Regions from separate parts of the Homo sapiens genome. Here region 2 is linked to region 1. Evidence: promoter capture Hi-C in 16 types of primary human blood cells and fetal thymus (Javierre and others, 2016). All regions are on one chromosome and are shown on one strand. The core of a region is centred on a gene start or on the middle of the fragment in contact, and the rest is flanking DNA. Distances in the headings are between cores, read along the strand shown.

The links. The method cuts DNA at HindIII sites, captures the fragments that hold promoters and counts their contacts. A CHiCAGO score of 5 or more calls a contact.
Region 2: a contact is called between a fragment that was not itself captured here and the fragment with the promoter of SEMA3D in region 1, in 1 of 17 cell types (activated CD4 T cells). The highest score is 5.6, in activated CD4 T cells.

What each region holds. Positions count from the first base shown.
Region 1 is chr7:85,185,185-85,192,188 of GRCh38, forward strand. It overlaps SEMA3D (semaphorin 3D), which reads right to left and starts at 1,872. Exons shown (of 19, transcript NM_001384900.1): 1 at 1,494-1,872. RefSeq lists a silencer at 1,684-1,743. The HindIII fragment of the contact is 2,551 bases long and covers 323-2,873 here.
Region 2 is chr7:83,843,583-83,849,947 of GRCh38, forward strand. No RefSeq gene overlaps it. Among named protein-coding and RNA genes, the nearest start is that of SEMA3E, 200 kb to the left of the region's middle. The HindIII fragment of the contact is 1,252 bases long and covers 675-1,926 here.

The DNA.
Region 1 (7,004 bases), core at 622-3,121:
GCAGAACTGGGAAGGCTCTGACCACCCCTGCCCCCGCGGTTGCCATGGTTACACAATAGCAGCAGCACCAGACCCAGGAGATGTCTCAGACCTCTCCTCTACCTCCGCCTCAACCCTTCCCTCTCTGTTAGGAGATCCTCCCCCTCGTCTCTGCGCGCCCCCACCCCGCCATCCCCCGCTAGCGCACACATGCAGGAGAACCCTTTTTAGGCTAAACCGGAAAGTTTAGGTCTTCTCCCCTCTTCTTTTGCTTGTGCAAATAGCACTAAGCTAAACGGAAAGTGGTGGGGTTTTGGTGATGAAATAAGAGTCCACGCACAGAAGCTTGCCTTTTATTACCGCTTCGCTCGAGGCGAAATCGCTGAAAGTTCGGCTATTTAACTCCTGTCCCCATAACTCGGAATCCCGGACACCAGCGGCCCCAGCTGCTGGCGCGCGGCTCTCTTCCAGTCCCCTGGATCCCAAAGCTCCCTGCCACAGCGCGGCGTCTCCTCCTCCTGTCAACTTCCCTCCTTGCACTGTGACGGAGGCAAAGCAACTCAGCCCAGGAGGTTGAACTCGAGTCATCAGAGAAGGAGAAACAGTGCCGAAAACGGCCCGTGCGCTACCAGGGTAGCCCATTAACGCATTAACTCCAGGCTCGTTGGGCAGAAGCCGGGAGGAAACACCCTGGGGACCGCACTCCTGGTTAAATGCCCAGCACGAGTCAAATCCGGCCTTTCCAAAGCGAGCCAAGCCCACTACTACAAAGAGATCCCCCGAGTGTTTTGCCTTAACCACATTTCAGACAGCCAGCTTTGTGGCTGCTGTTTGACTCCAACTTTCCCTCTAAATCTAAAAGGATGCACACTTCCATCAGACGGAACGTCGCGATTCCCCGGCGAAGAAAAAGGCGTCGCCCATTCCTCTTCCAAAACGCTACAACAAAAACCACCACGCTTCCCTTCCTTCTTCCTTGCCCCTTTCCCTTCTCCCAGACCAACAAGGAAAGGAGCGAGCGAGGGCGCAGATGCCCTTTGGTCAAGTACTCCCCGGATGTTCCCGACTAAAGCGTCTCCAAATGAACCTGCAGCCTGCGGAAGCCGGGGACACATTCATAGACGCTCTCTGCTGCCCAGACCAGGAGGGGTGGTGGGGGAACCAGGAAGCCAGGGAGAGAGCAAAGTTCCTGGACGCGTCTCAGGAGGAAAACTTTGTGCAGTGCTGCCAGGCGGAGGCTCGTCAGAAGGCTCCGCAGCTGCTGAGGCGGGGTGGGACTGCGCCCCAGGGGCCGCGCTGAAGCTGGCGCCGCGATTACTGCGCACCGATTTCGCCCACTCTCTGTCCGCTCCCGGGAGCCTTCTCTGTCTCAGGACGGTTCCTTATCTCCCAAACCATGCTCGTCCTCCACTTCGGACCCACAGCCACCCCCAAATCCCGGCTATCCCCGCTTAGCACCGCGGTCTCCAGCACACCCTCCCACTGGAGTAGCAGGTGACCCAAACCAGACTTACCTGCTGTGAACTCTTCTCTCCCTCTCTCTTTTCCTGGTGCCTTTTCAGGGAGAGGGGAACGGGATGCAGGCTGAGGTCCAGCGGCGCGGCAACCCGGGGCACCGGCGCGCGTTCCTCTGAGCCGCAGCCCTGGCTGAGCAAGCGGAGCCGCCGGCAGCCCTGGCAGAGCCGGGAAGCTGCGGCCGCAGGGGCCAGGCCGGGAGGCAGGGGGCGCTGCTGCCTCCCCCGAGAGCCGCGCTAGGACAGGCGGAGAGCAAGGCACCAGCTGGAGCTTTGGGGAGGAGAGGGTGGCGAGGAAAGGCACGCTCCAAACAGGAGGGCGGCTTTTAAGTTTGTGGTGTGACCGCAGCAGCTGTCCTGGGAGAGACTCAGTCTTTCTAAAAAGAGGATGCTGAAAACGCCGGGGATTACCTTTCCCCTTCCGATCTCCTCCCCCAGCCCTCGCCCCCTCCTTCCACTGCGCACGCCAGAACTCCCAAGCGTGCAGAAGTTCATCCCTGCTGCGCGGAGGCTGCCAGCAGCGTGGATTTAGAGGTAGCCCTGGCCAAGCGCTGACGGATGTTTATCAGGACAGGGCACCCTATGTGTAAAGCAACCTCTAACGTCTGATCTTCCTTCTGGGTGACTTGGGGACTTCTTTAGTTCCTTCTCTATACCATAAAACCTGTTAAGGGACCCCATGAGGAAGAAACAGGGAGAGTGACCACAAACACCGTCCTAAAAATGCTAATCCCACAAAACAGTACCTGCGTTCCACTATGTAAAACCTCAATCCACGGTTAATGGCCTTGACAAGGCAGGCATAGGGATGAGGAACAGGGATCAACCCTCCGTTAAGGGGCTGGCACCCGATTAAGACCAAACAGGGAGAGATAAAAACGAGTAGAATGTAATCCTTTCTTCCTCTTTCCCTTACGCCAGACCTACAAAGAGGTGTGCCTCATATCCTTGTCTTCGGGAGTTTTTTAGATTTTTGCACCCCTTATTCACACAGTAGGAACTTAGAAGTATATAATGACGAGAAGATCTAAGTTTTGATGAACCTGGATCCTATGCAATTGGAATAGAGGATCCTCTTTAAGCAAAAGTAATGCAGAAATATCTCACTTCTACAGATTCTGCAAAAATATATGACAATGAGAGTTCATGAGGCCACCGTCAGGGACATTAAAAAGGCCTGTGCATTTGGTGAGCCCTGTACGTTAGGCATTTTTAGCTGCATGGTAAATCCTTTGTGATGGGATATCCAGGTTTATAGTCACACACCTTGCCCTTAGTCCCAAACATAAATCTGACATGAGGTAGAGACATGGAAAGCAAGCAGCCACGGGATCCTGCATTTGTCAGCTTGATTTAAGAGCACAAGGTGTAGGGTCCCAAAGCTTCCTTAGCAAGTAACAAGAGATATCTTGATTTGGAGATGGTGAACAGACAAATGCAGTAATGGAATAACTGAAAGGGGTGGAAGACATTCTTCATTTGACCTTTTATCTGTGGCAGAGGGCTGAGGGCCACAGAAGCTAAAGGAGTCATTTTAAGTTATAAATGGTTGATGGCAGAGTCAGGCTAAGGAAAGGCTCAGGTTTCTCAAATCTGACCAAGGCTCTTTCTTGTGTCTCATGCTGCCCCATCTCTATAACCTTGGTTTGGACTCACAACCAATCAACCCCATAAATACCCTCTTTGGATAGAGAAAAAAATTTTAAATCCTCGTAGACTATTTCAAACTATAGCAACTTTTATTTTTTTTCTGAATGCTTTATATTTAATGTTATACCACTCATTCTGTACATAGTCATGCAATTGTTTATTGTATGTTTCTATGTGTTTATATTATTTTCATTTGTATATGTCATTGCACTTCCATGCAAATTGCAATGTCATTGTGCAAATAAAATATCTCTTTTTTTCTCCCGTATATGGTGGGTTTATAGTAAGTAGTTTTTGATTTTTAGAAAATCTCTATTTTTAAACTTTTAAATAATTTTGTCAGTTTATTGGCCAGAATTTTGTGTTTAACTAGAATTGTGGTTAACTTTGGATTTCCCATTTTCCTCCTTTCTCTTTTAAGTTGTAGCTTAATATGCTTAAACCAAATGACACCTTCCTTTGCTACCATTCAATACTTTCCATAAAGCCCTTACAGAATTAATCACTCCCTCCTGTTTTCCCAAAGCACTTTGATTTCACTACTATAATAAGCTCTTTTCACTTTATATTATAATTAGTTATGCATGTGTCTGCATCCCATACAAAAGTGTTGGCTGTTTTGTGTCTTTGTTTCTTCAGCCTCTAATACAATGCCTGTGACATTGTATTGTACTGATTTAGTTTGAGATGCTCAGACTTCAAATTTAGACAGAATTTACCAGAGTATCCTGAACATATCATGAGAAAACAACATCTGGAACGTGAATTCTGTGCTTTCCTTCCTTTTAATGACTCTGAGCACAAAGCAGATGGAATCAACTGTTAATATGTTGCCCAATGTGATGAATGGCCTCAGCTGTGTCCATGGCTCCGTAATCTTCAGGCTGCTTCCCTGAATGTCTTGAATGTGTTAGGTGCTTAACAAATATTTGTGTGTTAAACGAGTTAATAAAAACAGTAGAAATAATGTTAATATTCAGTCACTGGATTTATTTCTGAATTTCTAATAACTGTATAGGGTCCCACCAAGATAGTTTTAACAACCCTTTCTAAGAGTTTGAGATCTACTTTCATCAAAAGCAATTTGGTATTCTGTCCTATAGGGCTAATACCCTATCTAAATTCTTAAAATAAAACCCAGTGGGAAAAAAAGTATATTTTACAAAAAGTTTTGCTAAAATACAAGGTGTATTGTGCAGTTTAGTTTGTCTTCAAGGGTGACTATTCAAGATTTAACGAGTGAGCCTTAATTTCACTGAAAGCGATGTGTATATCATCAGTTAAAACCACCTAATTGTTGCTTGTATGCCTGTTTCAGTCCAAGGGGAAAAATACAAACAAAAAGAAAAAGGAAAGAAAACAAATAACTTTCATGTTCTTGGAAACATTATTGAATAAATAAATTGTGTGCCTTGAGAATCTAGGCTATTCTGAGACATACTACTCCTCACCCATCTCTATTTGGGCTCACAAATATAATATGAGTAAGTAATTTTCATTTTATGGTAGTAATATGTGTTAGGCAATATGAAATACACTATTTCTCAAAGGATCACATTTAATGCCAAACAAATCCAAAGAATAAAATTCTAATTGTAGAATTTCAGTAATCATCCATCTATGTTGAGAGCCATGGGAGAAGGCAGCAGGGATGGGTTAGGGTAGAATAGACATATTGTAGGCTTCTCCAATTCCACATATAGCTACCTCTGAACAGAAGACAGGAGAAAGGTAATTACTGGGTCCAGAGCTTAAATCTAGCAGAAGATTTGGCTGTCCTCTCAGCAGAAGATACTAAAACCAACAAAATCTACAATCCTAGTTCTCTCTGAACAGTTTTATATTCACAAATCAAATGAAAATTTGGTGAATTTGAAAGAAAATTATTGATGAAGGAGACCTCAAAGTTTATACACAGAGGCAAACAAGAAAAATTGTGTTAAAAAGCATGTCATTTTAATGTTTACTTCTCTAAAACTAGTCATACCTTAGTCATTCAGAAAACCTCTCTGTCTTATAATAAATATCACCTTATAAACGTTTTCTCATATATCACCTTATCAGCACTGACTGATAAGAAATGTTGTTATCCTCATCCAAGAAAATCGGCGTGTATGTTAAGTTACATCTAGTTGGAACAAGTGAGTGCATGAGTTTAAAGCAGCTCACCCAGCCCCTTATCTTCTATTAGCTATTTTCTTCTTATAAACTCCAGGTATTTTTTTCCATCTATTTCATTTGATCGTAGCAATACACTCATCACTGGATCATTAGATATTTACATTATAAAATCATCTGATGTGTTTAATGGTGGGGAAAAAAACACACCTGACTTTCATCTTTTATTTCTGTATTAATTATAATACATAGAACTCTCAGAAGTAAATGCATCCCTGCTTCTCATCATCAGATAAAGACAGAAAACAGTTTATCTTTAGTTAATTGGTATGTAAAACTGTCCAAACTTTGCTTCATACTTTTAAGTTTTAAACTCTTATAAAATCATAAATAATCATAAACATTCATAGTCAGAAGACACCTCAAAACCTTCTATCCCTCATGTTAGACACAAGGAAACCAGGGCCAAGGAAGACATAGTTATCACTCAGCTCCTTATGACTTCTGACTTGATGCCCTCTGTAGAATATTTCACCCTGCTATAGAGACTTTTCTTAAAAAAAGAAAAGAAAAAAAAATCAGCTATTTTTCAAAACTGTCCAAGCCAGAATCTTAAGGCTATATTTACTTAGCTGGGTTGGGGTGTGGTGAATAATTAAGTTCAGCAGGAATGTGCTTCAAAATAAAAATAAAAACACAGTCCAGCCTCTTTGGCCCAAATCCTGAGACTTCAGAAAAGAAAATCCTTCTTGACTACCAACATTCACTAGAATTTGGAACGGTTTTCCACGCCTGATATAGGAGTCTATATGGTTGTTGCAGATTGGGATAATTTAGTCAGATAAATGGCTTTTTGTGTTTGATTTGTAACAATGTACTTATATCAATAAACAATCCCCAAGGAAGGATTTTAAGGAAAAATAAACAACTTTCCTATGCACAATATAAAAAATCATCTTTAAGTTTTCTTTTTAAAAATACTTTCATACTACCACCATTCTACCCTTACAGCATGTTTTAGATACAGTGTATTCTTCTAAGAAAATGAGGTTGAGGAGGGAATTCCTGTGATACCCAGCTGAGGCAAGCCTTATTTGTGTATGAGTGACGAAATAAAGAAAAATATGCCCTCTTGTGGCTTATTTGTTCTGGTTCACAATTAATCAACAGTACTCTATTATTTCCTGAAACCCAGACATACCTGTATTCCAAGTGGAATTAAACTATTTCTTTGTGCAGTAACTGGCAAGAGCAGGTCCATACAGACAGCAGGAAGGCATTCCAACACTTCTGCTTTGTTCAAGGTCATAAGCAGCTGCTTAGCCACAGTGAAATCAGTATCCCTGAAAAGGAAGATTTTCCAAAATAACCCATAAATTTATATAGATATTATCAAAATCCCTTCCAAATAAATGCATTAGATAGAGTTTCTTTGCTAAATATTGAGGTTTGTTTTGGATAGACTTAAACCATCAGTTTCCACAAATGGGAGAAAATTCATGATTTGCTTTTCTACTATATTTGTGCCTCTACTATTTCTTTGACTGTAAGACATGTTTATTTTTCCACTATGAAAAGTGAAGTGTATAATAAAGCATTTAAGATAATAGTGATTTTCATTCTTGCATATTTTTATCTCCTTTTGCCCTACTTTACTCAGAAATTAGGATGTAAAAAGTGTGTTACATATTGTGGGCTGCAGATATAATTAATTTTATAATATTACAAAAAATGCCCAACATG
Region 2 (6,365 bases), core at 51-2,550, 1.3 Mb before region 1:
CCATGCAGAACGGTGAGTCAATTAAACTTCTTTTCTTTATAAATTACTCATACTTGGGTATTTATAACAGTGTGAAAATGGATTAATACAGTGCTCAATAAATATTAACTTGTTCTGATGATTAATGTAATAATTATTGATGATTCCAGTGTATAAAATGTATTCATAGATGCTTTCAATAATCTGGCCTCTCAGTTTGCTGAATACTTCTTCTCTGGTAATCTCGTCCTCAAACCTCTTTCAGACAAACTTATAGCGGTACTGAAGTGTTTAATATGGTAAACACATGTGACTATTTATTCTTAATGTAAATGCACAAAATTAAATAAAATTGGAATTTTGTTCCTCAGTTGCACTAGCCACATTTCAAATGCTCATTAGCCAGTTGTGGCTAGTAACTATTATATTGCACAGCACAGATACAGAGCATTTCTATTATAACAGAAAATTTTATAGAATAGCACTGCTGTAGACCTTGCATTCAATAATGTTAACTGCTTTCCTATCTCAATTCTATGCATTATACTCTTATCATCACTTCCTATCTTTAAGCTCACTTTCTTTTACAATGACTTCAACTAAGTTTTGACTTTATCATTTCCTCTAATTCATCAGTTCTCAAACTTTTTAGTCTCATAAACTCTACACTCCTAAAATTACTGAGGATGCCTAAAAGCTTTTATTTATGTGAGTAGCATCTTGGTTATTTGTTGTATTATAAATTTAAAGTGAAAAATTAAAAATAATTTATATGTTAATTAAAATAGCAAAAATAAATTAGTTATATGTTAACAGGAACAACCCATTTTAACATAAAATTTAACATTTGGGAGATTGTTATATTTTGCAAAGCAAAAGCAAATTTAGAGAAAACAGTATTAGCATTGTTTTACATTTTGCAAATCTCTTTAATGTCTGGTTTAAAAGATGGCAGCTGGATTCTCATATTTTCTTTTGCATTAAATCTATTGTGATATCACCCCCTATGAGCTGTAAAACTCCACTGCAAAGTCATCAGCAATAAGAGTGACAAAGGCAAATAATATCTTAGTAGTGTTATGAAAACTTGGATCTTCTGGATCTCCTGAAAGGATCTTTGAGAACCTCATGACGATCCATTGAGGACTACTGTTCTAGATCTGACTCTCTTTCAGTGTCCTTCACTCCCTCAGATTGTCTGTCCACTTTCTACCCAGCTTAAATACTTTCTTGTACATAAAATTAATTTCCTTACATATAATTCTTTGGCATGCCAGCTTGAGAAAGTCACAACCATGGTTAAATGCTACTATTCCACAGCTGCATCTGTGCAGATGAAAGCAGGAAAAAGATCACACAAGAACGTGGTCTTATCTCACTTGATGTCCTCTCAGTATTGTGAGGCAGTGATGCTATGCATCACAGACTGTCTATCCCTCACTTTCATCTTTTGCTCCTAACCCCCTATATCTCTTCCCTATGGTCACTCTCAATGACCGATCTCACTGAGAAAAGCAAGCATTTAGGAGAGAACTTCCACAGACTCTTTCCATCTTCTATAGATGCTTCCAACACCTATTTGTTGGTGCATGATCTCTGATTCTATCCATTACTGTGAAAGAACACTCCGCAGGCCTGACTAATCCATCAATTCATGGGAGCATAGATCCTTTCTTCCTTCATCTAAGCAAGAACCTCTCTCTACGATTTATTTTCTTTCCTCTTTACACTACCAATGTTTTCTTTTTATCAGTTCATTCCCATTATCATATAAACAAACTATTGTTTCCCAATTTAAAAACATATCTTCTTTTGACCCAACTTGTAGGAGCTACCATCCCATTTATAACAAAAAATATTCCAAAAGTCACTTGGAATTACAAAAGTCATTTGGAAGCCCTATTTCAAATACCCCTCTCCAATTCATTCTTAAACGCATTCTGATCAAGCTTTCATCCCTGCCTTCCTCAGAATCTGCTTCTGTCAATTTCACCCCCAGGTTGATAAAATCTAATGATTTATTTCTGGTTCTCACCTTAATTGTCTTATCAAAGTATTTAATATGGTTGATCACCTTTCCTCCTTTGATACACACCTGTTACGGGGTGTATTAGTCCGTATTCACACTGCTGATAAAGACATACCCAAGATTGGGTGATTTATAAAGAAAAAGAGATTTCATAAACTCACAGTTCCGTGTGGCTGGGGAGGCCTCACAACCATGGTGGAAGGCAAAAGGCATGTCTTACATGGTGGCAAGCAAGAGAAAATGAGAGCCAAGTGAAAGGGAAAACCCCTTATAAAACCATCAGAGCTCATGGGACTTATTAACTATCACGAGAACGTATTAGGGGAAACCACTCCCATGATTCAATTATCTCCCACCAAGTCCCTCCCACAACACATGGGAATTATGTGACCCACAATTCAAGATGAGATTTGGGTGGGGACACAGCCAAATCATATCTCTAGGCTTCCAGGACATAACTCTCCTATATGCTTTCCTCAGCTTTTGCCATCCTTCTTAGTTTTGGCATACCTAAAGTCCCTTTCTCTTCTCTATGTATACTTGTTGTTTTGTTGACCTCATCCGGTTTTAATATCACCCCTATACTGCTAACTTCTAAATTAGAATCCTCAATCCAAAACTTTCCCCTGAACACCAGATTGTATAGCCAAATGCCCCCTTGACAGTTTCACTTAGTTGTCAAATCGGTATCTTTAATGTGTTCCAAATGAATTACTGATCTCCATTCACAGACTTTCCCATCTCAGTTGATAGCAAATCCGCTCTTGACAATGCTCAGACCATAGGCTTTAGAATTAATAGTACCCTTTCTTTTTATCCCTCACCCAGTCTATTATAAAATCCTAATGACTCTACTAAAATGTGGCTAGTGAGACTGAGGAACTGAATTTTAAATTCTATTTCATTTTAATTAATTTAAATTTAATATTCACCTATAGCTGGTGGTTAAACATTGGGTAGCACATGCCTAGACTGACCACTAAAATAATAAAGATTAAATCAGTATTAGGAAAAAAATAATTGATAATAGTTTTCAGTACATCCAACAGAAAGTAGGATAGAAAAGAAGAAATAATATAGACCAGTCAGGATGAAGAGAAAGCAAAGAAGATTCTTGCATTCTGCATTTACTGGTACATTATTTTTGTCTAAAGTAGTGCCTGGCACATTGTAAGCGTTCAGTAGGTATTGAATAGATATTACTATTAGGTTTTTGAGCCTCCTGTTATTAAACCAAAGATAAAGATTTTGTATGTTTTTGTGTGAATTCTGTTTTATGCTTAATATTTAATCCCTAAAATCAATATTTTATGTCACAACTTAAAAAAATACCATCATCTTTACACAACGATTATGAAAATGTAAGTTTTTGATGGCTTAAAGCCCCATGGTAAGTGTCTTCCTAACATACAGTTCTTTGCACTATATTAAAATGTCACCTACATGTAAAAGTGCTTTACTCCTGAGTTTTGGAATGGTAGATACATTCAATGAGACAGATAATGTCCTCTCAATAGTTGCACAGAGTCTAAGTTTCTTTATTTAGATGACTCTAGACTATGGATAGATTATAGATAAACATATTTTCTCCAACAAAAATATCGTTAGGGAAATTTATGTTTTTCATTATTTTGCTAATAAACTTATTACTATTACTTAGAAGAAGTTGTTTCCTGATTTTTCATGGCTTGAGCATGATAAATTTTATTTTAAGGGATTCATACCAAGATAATTGTCATATGTCAAAAAATACCTTTATTGCTTTCAAAACTTAAAGTCTGTTGACCACCTAAAAGAAAAAAATGGCAATAACCTAAGAAAGATTCTGTCATTTCATTCATTAACATAATTAACTCATGGAAATGCTTTTCTTCCTTGTGTGCTAGCATTAAGAACTTATTTAAATGGGCACATTTACAAATGTCAGAACTATTGAATGGCACAATGTGTATCTTTTACCAAAATAAAAAAATCCTTAATAACAGTTTATAAAGATTCATTGTACAGAGTACATACAGTAATATATATATGATTTATTAAAATGTATTTTTTATTATGACTTTAAATCAAGTTTAGATTTCCCTTATAATTTCTCACTAAAACTGAATGCTTAAAATCCAGTATTCTGTTGGGAAAACATTTAAAATTAGTATGTTAAAATTCAGCATATTTTCCCAGCAAATTCTGGGAAAAAATATAGTAGAGATATTTTATATATTTTTAAATCTTTTGTAAGGCCTACTGTATTGGGCATCTGGAAAAATGAGAATTCTTCTTGTTATATTAATAATTTATTAGTTTCAATTACAAAATGCCAGTGTGTGTGTGTTTATGTATATTACACATATCTCTCTATTTATCTCTCTTTTTCTAACTCTCCTGCAAAATCCACTTTGTAAAGTTAAAAATTCAATCCATGACCTACTTTTTTATTATATTCAACATCAGATTCACAATTCTGTGAAACAAAATGTAGAATATTCCTCATTGGAGAATAGAAAGATAGAAACCATTTCTCTTGACTTAAATAAATGTAAAGCTCCTTATAAGTCTCAATGTGGATCAGATCGTCTGGGCTGTAAATTATCCTAAGAAAATAAAGTTAATGTCTGTTGAAACTGAATCATGTTTTACTTAACAACTTGCTTAACTTACTCCTCACATGAGACAAATAGCAGTCTATTCTCACCTCTTGTTCCTTTATGACATTTCTAACGATTATTTTTAAAATTCTAATATGTACAAGTTCATAGAGAATTTCACCTTTTCAACCTTATGACATTCAATTCCTGTTTAATTTTTAAAAATTCTTGATGCGTAGCCATAATCTACTGTAATTAATTTCATTCCATTTCTAGAAGAAAATAGGAATAAAAATAACAGCTTCTTCAATCATGAACAGTAGGAATTTCTGGAATTTGTTGATGTGATGGTGTTGCCAGGCTGACCTAACAATTTTAAAGTAGAGTCCTTGCTTATATTGGAGCCTAATCCAGGCAGGTGTAACTCCACTCCCATCCACACGTGTTCATCTACTCACTCTTAAGAAATGTGTCATTTTGGCCTTGTTTAGATTTATATGCATATGCTTCAAAAATAAATTTTAGAGCTCGAATATAACTTTGTTCTTTATAGAAACAAATGAATGTGATGTTAAAATAAGGTTTCACTGAATCACATATACTTGTAAGCCTCAATAGGAATTTACCCAAAATATCAGTATAAATTTTATGAAATATTAGGCTCCTACAACATAGTAAATTAAGTAAACTTAGACTAAAATTTCATATTATAACCAACATTGACCAAAGCAAATGAGAATAGTCAAGGTGCATTTGTTAAAGCACATCTGCAATTTCACATTCAGCTTTAGATGTCACTTCTAAAGTTCTGTGTACACATTAGAATTAATTAGAAAACAGTGACAGGGAAAACGAAATGACTCCAAATGAAATCAATTTATGTATTATTTATACACCTTTCTTCTGTTTTGTCCTAAAATTATTTTGAGGTAGCTTATACAGATACATGTAAGAGGTAGAAATTCAGATAGAATGAAAAATCAAGAGCAAGAGAAAAACAAAAATGTGCAGTGCTTATGTAGTAATGTAAGTTTTAACAACTCCATACAGTGTTGTGGATACATGGTCGTATTCTAGAGTTTCCTGGCATCCACTTAGAAAACATGATTATGAACCTGACTCATGTTGTCCTAAAAATAAAATGAAATGCACGCAAATTACTGAGGCTCTGTGTTCTGGCCCTAGGCCTGAAAGCAATTATTCACATGGCTCTTTATATTGGGAACACTTAGTAATGTAGAAACAGCGTCCTCAATAACATCCTCTGATAAATAAAATAAGAAGTTCCATATGTTGAGTATGGTGTCTCACAGAATAAGCTTGGGACAAAATACTCTGTGTAAAGAAGTCCTCCAAGGAGCTAAAACCATATTATATAAATGCAGTATTTTCTGCACTTTTAACTTAATTGAGATAAAACCTAACTATCAAAGCATGGTAGACTTGAGACCAAGTCACCAGGGATGTTGAGGAAACTTTGGCGGTGGAGGTAGTGGAGGTAACGGCGTGAGCTTTACAGCACAGTGCTTTTACTGAACAAGTTTGGGGGAGGTGCCCAGGATTTCAACTGTCTATGCAACTTCAGTGAGTAATGGAACCCCTCTGTGCTTGTTTGCTTCTTTGTAAAACAGAGATGATGACCATATTTCTATTTCATATAATTGTTGTAAGGACTGAATGAATAAATACAAGTCAAATCCCAGGAAAAGGGGTCTGGCACATATCAATTGTACAATAAGCATTATCTATTACTTTTATCTTTAAATTGAAAGGGG